Regions from separate parts of the Homo sapiens genome. Here regions 1 and 2 are each linked to region 3. Evidence: promoter capture Hi-C in human tissues and cell types (Jung and others, 2019). All regions are on one chromosome and are shown on one strand. The core of a region is centred on a gene start or on the middle of the fragment in contact, and the rest is flanking DNA. Distances in the headings are between cores, read along the strand shown.

Region 1 (3,555 bases), core at 334-2,833, 140 kb before region 3:
TTCCTCATCTGTAAAATACAGGGTTGGGCTGGGCACAGCGGCTCATGCCTGTAATCCCAGCACTTTGGGAGGCCGAGGCGGGCGGATCACTTGAGATCAGGAGTTCGAGACCAGCCTGGCCAACATGGTGAAACCCCCATCTCTACTAAAAATACAAAAATTAGCCGGGCATGGTGGTGCATGTCTGTAATCCCATCTACTCTGGAGGCTGAGACAGGAGAATCACTTGAACCCGGGAGGCAGAGGTTGCAGTGAGCCTAGATCTTGCCACTGTACTGCAGCCTGGGCGACAAAGTAAGACTCTGTCTCAAAAAATAAAAATAAATAAATAAATAATAAAATAAAATACAGGGCTGGGCCGAGCATAGTGGCTTACACCTATAATCCCAGCACTTTGGGAGGCTGAGGTGGGAGGACTGCTTTAGCCCAGGAGGTTGAGGCTGCAGTGAGCTGTGATCATGCCGCTGTACTCCAGCCTGGACAGCATAGTGAGACCCCATCTCAAAAAAGGAATACAGGGCCGGCTTCATGGGTGTGCCACCTGTGCAGTCGTCCAGGGCCCCACGTTTGGAAGGACCCCACACTTAGTTAAATGCTCTGATGCTATCATCTTAAAATTCTTAGTCGTTTTTGAACAAGGGCTAAATTTTTCATTTTGCACTGAGCCTGCAAATTATGCAGCTGTTCCTGGTGAAATGCCTCCCTCCTGGGTCTCTGTGAGAATTGAGTACGAGGCGATTCCTGGGAAGCACCCAGCACGGTGCTTTGCATAAAGTCAGTGGCTCAAGAAGTGGAGAAGCGCCCCAAAGTGAACCCCAGTACCCCGCAGGTTCCCTGCACTGCCTGTCCCTTCCCTCGGAGGAGGCACCACAGGGACTCCGGTCCCCGGACACCATCTGTTGATTGGCCCAGCCTGTGGGAGAGGGCTTGGCCTCCTCTGGAACCTTCCTGCTGCCCTGTGTGACTTGCTCGCCTCTCCGCAGCTGATCGCCTGGGAGCCGGAACAGGAAGAGGAGGTTACCATGGTGACCGCCCGGCCTAACTTTCAAGACAGCATCCACGTGGGCTTCGTGTCTGGCCTGAAGAAGTTCACCGAGTACTTCACCTCAGTGCTGTGTTTCACCACCCCCGGGGACGGGCCACGCAGCACCCCGCAGCTGGTGCGCACCCATGAGGATGGTAGGCACCCCCCAGCCCTGCTCTTTCTGCCCCCCCCCGCCCAAGGCCAGGCTGGGCGCCCCAGGCAGAAGGGTGGCCCAGGCTTGTCTCCCAGGCTGAGATACCCCCAGATTACCACAGGCTATCTCACAGATGGTGGTCTCTCTCTGGCTCTAACTGGCCTTGGGGGGTGGGGGTTCCTTTTGGGGTGCAGTGCCTGGGCCCGTGGGACACCTGAGCTTCAGTGAGATCCTGGACACATCGCTGAAGGTCAGCTGGCAAGAGCCGGGAGAGAAAAATGGCATCCTCACAGGTAGGCACTGCAGTGTTTCTGAACCAGAGGGCAGGACAGGGCTGGGAAAGGTCAGAGCTGGTCCATCCCCTGCCTTTGAGCTACTTTTCACCCAAACTCTTGAAGCCAACCCATGCTTTCTTAGAAACCACTCACAGGAGGCTCTTGGCACCTCCACTTCATAACACATCCCAGAGTCTGCAGCCCCACACCTTCTGCCACAGATCTCAGTGGCTGCCATGATGACTCACTATGTCCCCTGCAATTCCCTAAAGTGCTGGCATCCCACTGAGGCGACACCTGAGACCCAGGGCATGATGCCAACAGCTCCCACCTCCCTTGGCCCCATTGCTCCCAGCGTGGATCTAATTGCCAGCCTAGTGGAGAAGTGAGAAGTGGAGTAGTGGGTCAGGCCAACTTGTGATCACAGCCAAGCTCATGCCAACACGGCGGCTCTCCCCAGGGTACCGGATCTCCTGGGAGGAGTACAATCGAACCAACACCCGTGTGACCCACTACCTGCCCAACGTGACCCTGGAGTACCGTGTCACGGGCCTCACCGCGCTCACCACCTACACCATCGAGGTGGCCGCCATGACCTCAAAGGGCCAGGGCCAAGTGTCCGCCTCCACCATCTCCTCTGGGGTGCCCCCAGGTAAGTGCCCACTCTCAAGGCAGGACTCTTTGAGTTCTCCTGAGCAGCGTCCCATTCAAGAGGCCCCTTGTCGGCTGGGCGTGGTGGCTCATGCCTGTAGTCCCAGCACCTTGGGAGGCTGAGGCAGGCGTATCACTTGAGGTCAGGAGTTCGAGACCAGCCTGGCCAACGTGGTAAAACCCTACTAAAAATACAAAAATTAGCCAGCTGTGGTGGTGCATGCTTGTGATCCCAGTTAGTTGGGAGGCTGAGGATGGAAGATCGCTTGAACCCAGGAGGTAGAGGTTGCAGCGAGCCGAGATCACACCACTGCACTCCAGTCTGGGTGACAGGGCCACATCGCGTCTCAAAAAAAAAAATAAAAAGAGGCCCCTTGTCTTTCAGGAATACCAGCGTTCTTCCCACAGGCTCTCCCCTTCCCTTGTGCTGTGTGGGTCTGGGTCCCCTCAGAGCAGGCGGAATCCCTGGGATCCCAGGTCTCTGGACAGGGGCTCCCCTGGCTCCCTGCTGCATCCTCCCACAGCTCTCAGAAAAGCAGAGGCCCCCTGCCTTGTCTCATTTCCCCACCAGTCCCTCCCTTCACCCATTTCTCACCAGATTCCACACCAGGCAATGGTATCTGTGATTCAGGGGAAAATTTCCCACTGTCGCCCAGAGGGTCCACCTTGGATTCCAGCGTGTGGAAGGGTTGGTTGGGAGGTGGCAGAGCACGGTGGGGCTACTCCTAGGCCTGGCACAGAGAGCAAGCCGAGGTCCACTCTCAGCTCTGCTTCTGCCAAGCCCTACAACCTTGAGCAAGTTCTGTGTCCCCTCTGTGCCTCAGTTTCCCCATCTGTATATATGGGAAGTTGGACCAGATAACCATGTGGTCCCATCCAGATCAGTCAGGCAGTGCTTGTTTGACCTGCCAGCATCCCTCCACCTGCTGCGTAGATGGCTGGGCTGCCTGAGTCTCAGCCAAAGCCCAGTGATAATTACAGCCATGCTGGCAAATAGGTATGTAGTGTTCACGGGGCATGGTGCTGGGAGCTTTGCTCACGTTGACTCATTTAATCCTCACAACAACCCTGAGGGAGGTGTTGCTATTATCCTCTTCATTACCAAGGAGGACATGGAGGCACAGAGAGTTGGATAACTTGTGCAAAGACACACAGCCTGTAAGTAGTGGAGTTAGATTTAAACTCATTCTGACTCCAGAATCTGTGTTCTTTCTGTTGTTCCTGAGCTCCAAGAGCCCCAGGATTCCTGGCCAGAAAATAAGCTTCCCCCTGTCCCCACCCATCCTCTCACCTTCCTGAGCTGTAATTAGGCGTAGGAGGTGTGCAGGGGTCTGGGCGGATGGAAGGGAGGATCGGTCCCGTTTGGTTTCTTTCTCAGCACAGCTTGGTTTTAATGCAGCTTTTAGCTGCCTTATGATTACCTCACTCACATCCAGAACTGCCAGGAAGAA
Region 2 (3,576 bases), core at 94-2,593, 190 kb before region 3:
AAAAGGGTCCTAAGACAGGTGGGTGAACTGGAACGTGGGCCAAGCTGTGCCCAGTGTGCCCACTGGAGGCTTGAAGCTGCTTCTATGATAGTCATGGATGTGGCGTGGCTGGGGGAGCTGGGCCGGCATGGTCCCGGCACATAGTGCTCATGAAAATCCTGTCAGCCCTGAAGCTGGCCATGTCCCGGTCTGCGGGGTGGGAAGAGACAGGTGGCGGGCTGCAGGGCTATCTTGGGCCTAATGAGGAAACAACAGAAGCAGCAACAGGAATCAGAATCCTTCAACCTCTGGGCTGGAAGAAATCTCACAGAATACCTGCTTCCACCCCTGCACAGAGGAGGAAACTGAGGCCCAGCAAGGAGGAAGCTGCATGCCCTTTAGAGGCTAGGGCCAGAGCTCCATTCCAGAGCTCACCCCGTGCCCCAGCCAGAGCCCTGCACGGGGAGGACCCCTCCTCCAACTCTCAGCCACCCTCACATGCTATACCTAAGGACAAGTCCCTGCAGGAAACTCTCAGGTGGGAAAATGACCACTATCCCTGTCTTATTTTAAGCTTTTGAAATATTTTCGCCTGGCTCTGGCCCCACCTCCTATTGCCTCATTAGCTGGAGGTTAAAAGGACTCTCCTGTTTTTTGTTTCTTGTTTTTTTGTTTGTTTGTTTGTTTTGTTTTTTTGAGATGGAGTTTCGCTCTGTTGCTCAGGCTGGAGTGCAACGGTGCGACCTCGGCTGGCCGCAACCTCTGCCTCCCAGGTTCAAGCGATTTTCCTGCCTCAGCCTCCCGAGTAGCTGGGATTACAGGCATGCACCACCACCACACCCGGCTAATTTTGTATTTTTAGTAGAGACAGGGTTTCTCCATATTGGTCAGTATGGTCTCGAACCCCCGACCTCAGGTGATCCACCTACTTCAGCCTCCCAAAATGCTGGGATTACAGGCGTGAGCCACTGTGCCCAGCCAAGAGCTCTCCAGAAAAAAAAAAAAAAAAAAAAAAAGAGGTGGGGGGGCATCATTAGGGTACCCAGGAATTGGGGGCAGGAGGGCTTGGCTTCCTGCTTCCCAGAGCTGTGCCAAGAGTGTGATTCTCAGCATGTGAAGCACCAAAACCAGGAGAGAGTGGGGCGAAAACCAGCACAGCCGGGCTGGGAGAGTGCTGGGCTGGAGAAGCATTAGTGGGGATGTTTATTTGAGAGCCTGTTTAAAACTCTGTAACATTCACCTAATGGGAAAATTTGAAAAGAATTCAACTGGATTTGTCCTTGTTAAACTAACATTAAGGATGTTTAACAGCTGTCTCAGGCCCATCGCATTAAAATCCAGAGATATACTTGACAAACTAATGGCTTTGTTTGTCATTGGGAGAATGGGTGGAGGGAGGAAGAGCCGGTGTGGGTGGCGCTTCTGGCTCCATTGCACCCACATTCCATGGAGCCTCCAGCTTCCTGCTTGGACAAGCCCCTTTTCCCTGCCAGAAGACCTGGCCTGAGAAGGGGCTGCATGATGGGATCCCAGCAAAGGAAACCAGCTGAGGTAAACAGCCCATCACCACACCCCAAAACACACCAGCCTCTTTTTCCCTCCTAACCAGCCCACCTAGTCCCACTCTTGGTTATGAGCTTCAAAGAGGTAGAAACTCCAGCTGGGTACAGTGGCTCACACCTGTAATCCCAGTACTTTGAGAGGCCAAGGCAGGCAGATCACTTGAGGTCAGGAGTTTGAGACCAGCCTGGCCAACATAGCAAAACCCTGTCTTTACTAAAAATATAAGAATTAGCCGGGTGTGGTGGCATGCACCTGTAATCCCAGCTACTCAGGAGGCTGAGGCAGGAAAATCACTTGAACCGGGAAGGCGGAGGTTGCAGTAAGCCAAGATCGTACCATTGCACTTCAGCCTGGGTAACAAGAGCAAAACTCTGTCTCAAAAAAAAAAAAAAGACTGGGCACAGTGGCTCACGCCTGTAATCCCAACACTTTCGGAGGCCAAGGCGGGCAGATCACAAGGTCAGGAGATCGAGACCATCCTGGCTAACAAAGTGAAACCCTGTCCCTACTAAAAATACAAAAAATTAGCCAGGGGTAGTGGCGCGCACCTGTAGTCCTAGCTACTCGGGAGGCTGAGGCAGGAGAATCGCTTGAACCCGGGAGGCAGAGGCTGCAGTGAGCCAAGATCATGCCACTGTACTCCAGCCTGGGCAACAGATCGAGACTGTCTCAAAAAAAAAAGAGGTAGAAACTGATACCCAGAAAGGGGACTGAAGGGAGACAGGACTTCCAGAAGTTGATGTCACCAGGTGACCTGTGGCCTTTGAGTCCATCAATCCTGAACAGATTTAGGATTAGGGTTAAGGCATGGACTCTGGAATGGCCCTGCATTTCTAAATTCATTAGCATTCATTTGTCATTTACTTATTCATTCACCGACATTCACTAATCCATGCTGAGAACATTTCTTCAGTGTCTGGATGTACATCATGCAGAAATAACCACACACAGCCATGGAGGCTGTGACCTGGGAAAGGGCAGAATTCCAAGGGGATACCTGGAAGCCCCTTGCCCAGTCTTGGGGTAGGGGCCAGGGAAGCTTCCTTTGGGTGGCCTCGGCGTCTGGGCATGAACGTGCTGTCTCTGGGTCTGGTTGACAGCATCAGCACCGTGTTTAGCATTCTCTGCAAACTAAACGTGGCGGGATGTAGGCAGTAAGAGGTTGGGGAGGGGGTGGCAGGAGGGGCCCTGGGAGGCTGGGGACTGGGAGATATGGTCGGGCTTCCCCCTTAGGGTTTCCACTCCCACTCCCTGGAGGTTCAGAGCCCCTTAGGCCCCTGTCAGAGGAATCCTTTTCCTCTTCCCAGAGCCATCACGCTGGAGAACACCCTTGTCATCCTGTCAACGGTGGCCCCTGACGCAGGTCGCTACTATGTGCAGGCTGTTAACGACAAAAACGGGGATAACAAGACCAGCCAGCCCATCACGCTCACCGTGGAGAGTAAGTACGCACAGGGCCGGGACCGATCTTGGAGCGGGCCATTAAATCTTAGCAATGGTGCTCCAGGGGATCATTGGGAAGATGGAGTGGCAGAGGAGGGGGACAGGGAAGCTAGGGGACGGCCGGGGGGAGCCTTCCCAAGGAGGACGAGACACAGCAGAGCCAGGGGTGCCTGGGCAGGAAAGGAGCAGCTGAACGCTGGAGCCCGTTCCCATGACACGCCTGAGATCCTGCATCGGTAGAGAGGATGCTTAGCACAACTGTTAGCAGGGCTACCAGGGACCCAGGGAGGGGTGGGGCAGAGGAAGAGCGTGTGCATGTGTGAGTTGCAGCCACTATCGGGGCTCAGATGCTGACCAGGAGGGCATGTGGGTGATTGCAGGGCTGAAGCTTGTTTTTACAGAAATATACTAACTGTCTCTACTTGGCTGTCACATAAGAAGTGCTGTCTATATTGGGAGCCAGGTGGTCCCTGCTGATGGGAAGACAGGCCCTCTGCCCAGGCACCCACCTAAAACACCTCCATCCTCAGACACCTCCAGCTCCCTGGGCGAAAAGGGCAAAGCCCTCCCTAGAACTCACCACACAGTGAG
Region 3 (3,142 bases), core at 343-2,842:
AGAGCTCTGCCTGCTACCCCTTCCTGCCCTGCTGGGCCCCTCATGCCTCCATCGCATTATTGTGTGAATGGCTAATGTCCCCTCCTTGATGGGGCCATCTCTGAGGATAGGGACGTGGCCCTAGTGCAGAGATGCTCAGGGATGTTTAGGGAAGGAAGTCATCAAGAGACCTAGATGTGAACCCCATCCATAGCGCCTCCCAAACCATGTGGTCTTGGCCTCCCTGGGCTTTGATTCCCTCATCAGTCCTGCCTGCGCTGCCAGGCTTCTGTGAGCCTTTAATGAGCCTGTGTTGACAGATGAATGCATTCTTGGGACTACTAATCAACGCATACAACTAAGGCCAAGAGAAGCCAGGGTTTCTACCCCAGGGACCCCCTTGGCCCCACCCTCTAGCCCTGGAGCTGGGTCCCTCTGCCTCTCCCAGGATGCAGTCAGAGGCCTGAGCTTCTGGAAACTCTTGGATCTCGTCCCTGCTCCTCCCAGTCCCACCTCGGCTCCAGGTGTCTATCTCTCCAGCTATTTTCTTTTCTGATCTGGAGTTCAAAAGAACAGATCTAGGAGCAACAGCCACGGGGAACAACAGCCAGCAGGCTAGTTCATGTTGGCCCAGCTGAGAGCCTGCGGGGCTGCCCACCTCTCCCTGCTGGGTTTGGGCACCCAGAAAGGAGGGCGTATGGGTTCTGGTTCTATGGGCATTAAAAGCCAATGTGACTGAGAACAGCAGCTCTAGTTAGAGGCAAGGCCAGTTTGGGGCCAGAGCAGGGGGAGGGGGAACCTGGTCTAATTAGAGCCCTAACATGCTCCTTTGAAAGCATTGTCAGATGTCCCCAGCCCTGCAGGCAGGGGTGGTGTAATAATAATAAAACAACATTTGCATAGAGATTTCATTTATAAAGCACTTTCTCAGGGGTGGGGTGGCACTGGGTGGCCCTGTGGAATCCTGGCTGGGAGGCCGCCCTGGCCTTGGTCGGTTCCGCCCTCCCGCCAAGCTGGCGATTGTGTGCGAGGTAAACAAAGCGCCATTCATCCAACTGTTTCAGTTCCTCTCCTCTTCATTCCTTTTTCCCTGTCTCCCACGAAGAGCTCACTCGGGGCTTGTCACTCAGGCCAGAAAAGGGGTGTCAGGGGCCCCAGAGGGAGACCCCTTCCCTCATGGGAAGAAGCGGGGAGGTGGGACGGCTCCCTCCCTCTGCAAACCCCCACCACCCCCAGCTCTGGCAGAATAACAGCCTTGCTGCGGTTGGTTTGTGCAACTCTTTGCTAACCTGTGGCTGTGTCTTCATGGACAAAGTATGAGCCCAGGTTTGGTAATGTCTGTGTGCACGCCACGTTTGTGTTCGGTAACATGCAAAGATAAGCAGTTTGTGGGGCTCTGCGAATCCCTCCCTATCCGAGTGAGCCTTGTGTACACAGTGTGGGGGTGAGGGGCCCTGGGGTGTCTGCCCCTGCACTGGGTGGGCCGGGTGAGGCAGCTGGGCCCTGCTCCTGTACAGCCCAGGCTGGAGCGTCCCCTGCAGTCACCTGGCCACTGGCACCCTGGGGTGAAGGGGGAGGCATTGGGCGCTGGCCCCTTAAGGGCCTCTGATGAGCTATATTGGGCCCACCTGCCTGGGTTCCAGCAGCTTCCGCAGCCCCAGCAGGAGACGGAAGATGCAAGAGGTCATTGCGGGGCTAGAGCGGTTCACCTTTGCCTTCGAGAAGGATGTCGAGATGCAGAAGGGCACTGGGCTCCTGCCTTTCCAGGGCATGGACAGTGAGTGAGGGTGGGGCCACTTTCCCTCCCCTACCTTCTCTGTTTTTTTTTCTTTGAGACGGAGTCTCGCTCTGTAGCCCAGGCTGGAGTGTAGTGGCACAATCTCGGCTCATTGCAAGCTCTGCCTCCTGGGTTCACGCCATTCTCCTGCCTCAGCCTCCCGAGGAGCTGGGACTACAGGCGCCCGCCACCACGCCCAGCTGATTTTTTGTATTTTTAGTAGAGACCGGGTTTCACCATGTTAGCCAGGATGGTCTCAATCTCCTGACCTCGTGATCCGCCCGCCTTGGCCTCCCAAAGTGCTGGGATTACAGGCATGAGCCACCACGCCCAGCCTCCCTCCCCCTTCCTTCTCTACAGGCCTCTCTGCTCAACTCCCTGATGCGACCGCCCCTTCTCTGTCTCTCTCTTCTGTGGCTTCGGGGCAACCCATTTTCCAGACTGAGAAAGAGAGGCACAGAGAGACGGTGAATTGAGAGAAGCCACACTGGCCTCCCGAGCTCCTGGGCCAGGCTTGAGCCCCTCGAGCTCCTCTGTTTCAGAGTTGGGGGGTTAAGGGTTGAGGTCTGCTGGCTGGCTCTGCAGGTTAACCTCTACAGGGCCCAGATTTGGGATCCCATAGGCCAGAGCCTGGGGGAGGTCTAGGTGGGACATGCCGATGGAGGTGGAGGCTTCCGGAACAGCTGCAGCCTCTGGGGAAGCTACCTTCTCCGTTCCCTCTTCTCCTTCCAGAGTCGGCCTCAGCTGTGTGCAACTTCTTCACTAAAGGGCTCTGTGAGAAAGGTGAGTTAGCAGACAGGCCTGGGCCCCAAGCTGGGTGAGTGTAGGGTCTGTCTGAGCTACACCCAGCAGGGGCTCTGCCTGGCCTGGGATAGGGTGTCGAATTTGCACCTGGGGAGGGAAAATTGGGATGGAACGGAATTTTATTTTTATTTTATTTATTTATTTTTAGATGGAATCTCGCTCTGTTGCCCAGGCTAGAGTGATCTGGCGTGATCTCAACTCACTGCAACCTCTGCCTCCTGGGTTCAAGCGATTCTCCTTCCTCAGCCTCCCGAGTAACTGGAACTACAGGTGCATGCCACCAAGCCCGGCTAATTTTTGCATTTTTAGTAGAGATGGAGTTTTGTCATGTTGGCCAGGCGGGTCTCAAACTCCTCACCTCAGGTGATCCACCTGCCTGGGCCTCCCAAAGTGCTGGGATTACAGGCGTGAGCCACCATGCCCGGCCATGGAGCAGAATTTTAGACTTACAGGTAGACAAAGGATAAGTGGTTGGATCCACCGAGCAGCCTGCCCCTCCCCTAAGATTTTCCCGCCTCAGCAGCAGTCTTCATAGTTTGCAGTTCGCATCAGGGTAACCAGGCTGCCTGGAAAGGGGTATTT

Evidence for each region. The method cuts DNA at HindIII sites, captures the fragments that hold promoters and counts their contacts. A contact is called where the count stands out against the background at its distance.
Region 1: a fragment that was not itself captured here is called in contact with the fragment with the promoter of CPSF4L in region 3 in 2 of the 25 tissues and cell types used here (lymphoblastoid cells and spleen).
Region 2: a fragment that was not itself captured here is called in contact with the fragment with the promoter of CPSF4L in region 3 in 1 of the 25 tissues and cell types used here (spleen).

Annotation. Positions count from the first base shown.
Region 1 is chr17:73,399,570-73,403,124 of GRCh38, reverse strand. It overlaps SDK2 (sidekick cell adhesion molecule 2), which reads left to right. Exons shown (of 45, transcript NM_001144952.2): 19 at 984-1,179; 20 at 1,373-1,471; 21 at 1,914-2,105. Among named protein-coding and RNA genes, the nearest start is that of CDC42EP4, 89 kb to the right of the region's middle. RefSeq lists enhancers at 1,431-1,934, 1,935-2,439. The HindIII fragment of the contact is 9,787 bases long and covers 1-3,555 here.
Region 2 is chr17:73,447,022-73,450,597 of GRCh38, reverse strand. It overlaps SDK2 (sidekick cell adhesion molecule 2), which reads left to right. Exons shown (of 45, transcript NM_001144952.2): 5 at 2,850-2,983. Among named protein-coding and RNA genes, the nearest start is that of SDK2-AS1, 65 kb to the left of the region's middle. The HindIII fragment of the contact is 3,268 bases long and covers 1-2,977 here.
Region 3 is chr17:73,260,330-73,263,471 of GRCh38, reverse strand. It overlaps CPSF4L (cleavage and polyadenylation specific factor 4 like), which reads left to right and starts at 1,592. Exons shown (of 6, transcript NM_001129885.1): 1 at 1,592-1,756; 2 at 2,489-2,539. The coding sequence starts at 1,654. The HindIII fragment of the contact is 16,084 bases long and covers 1-3,142 here.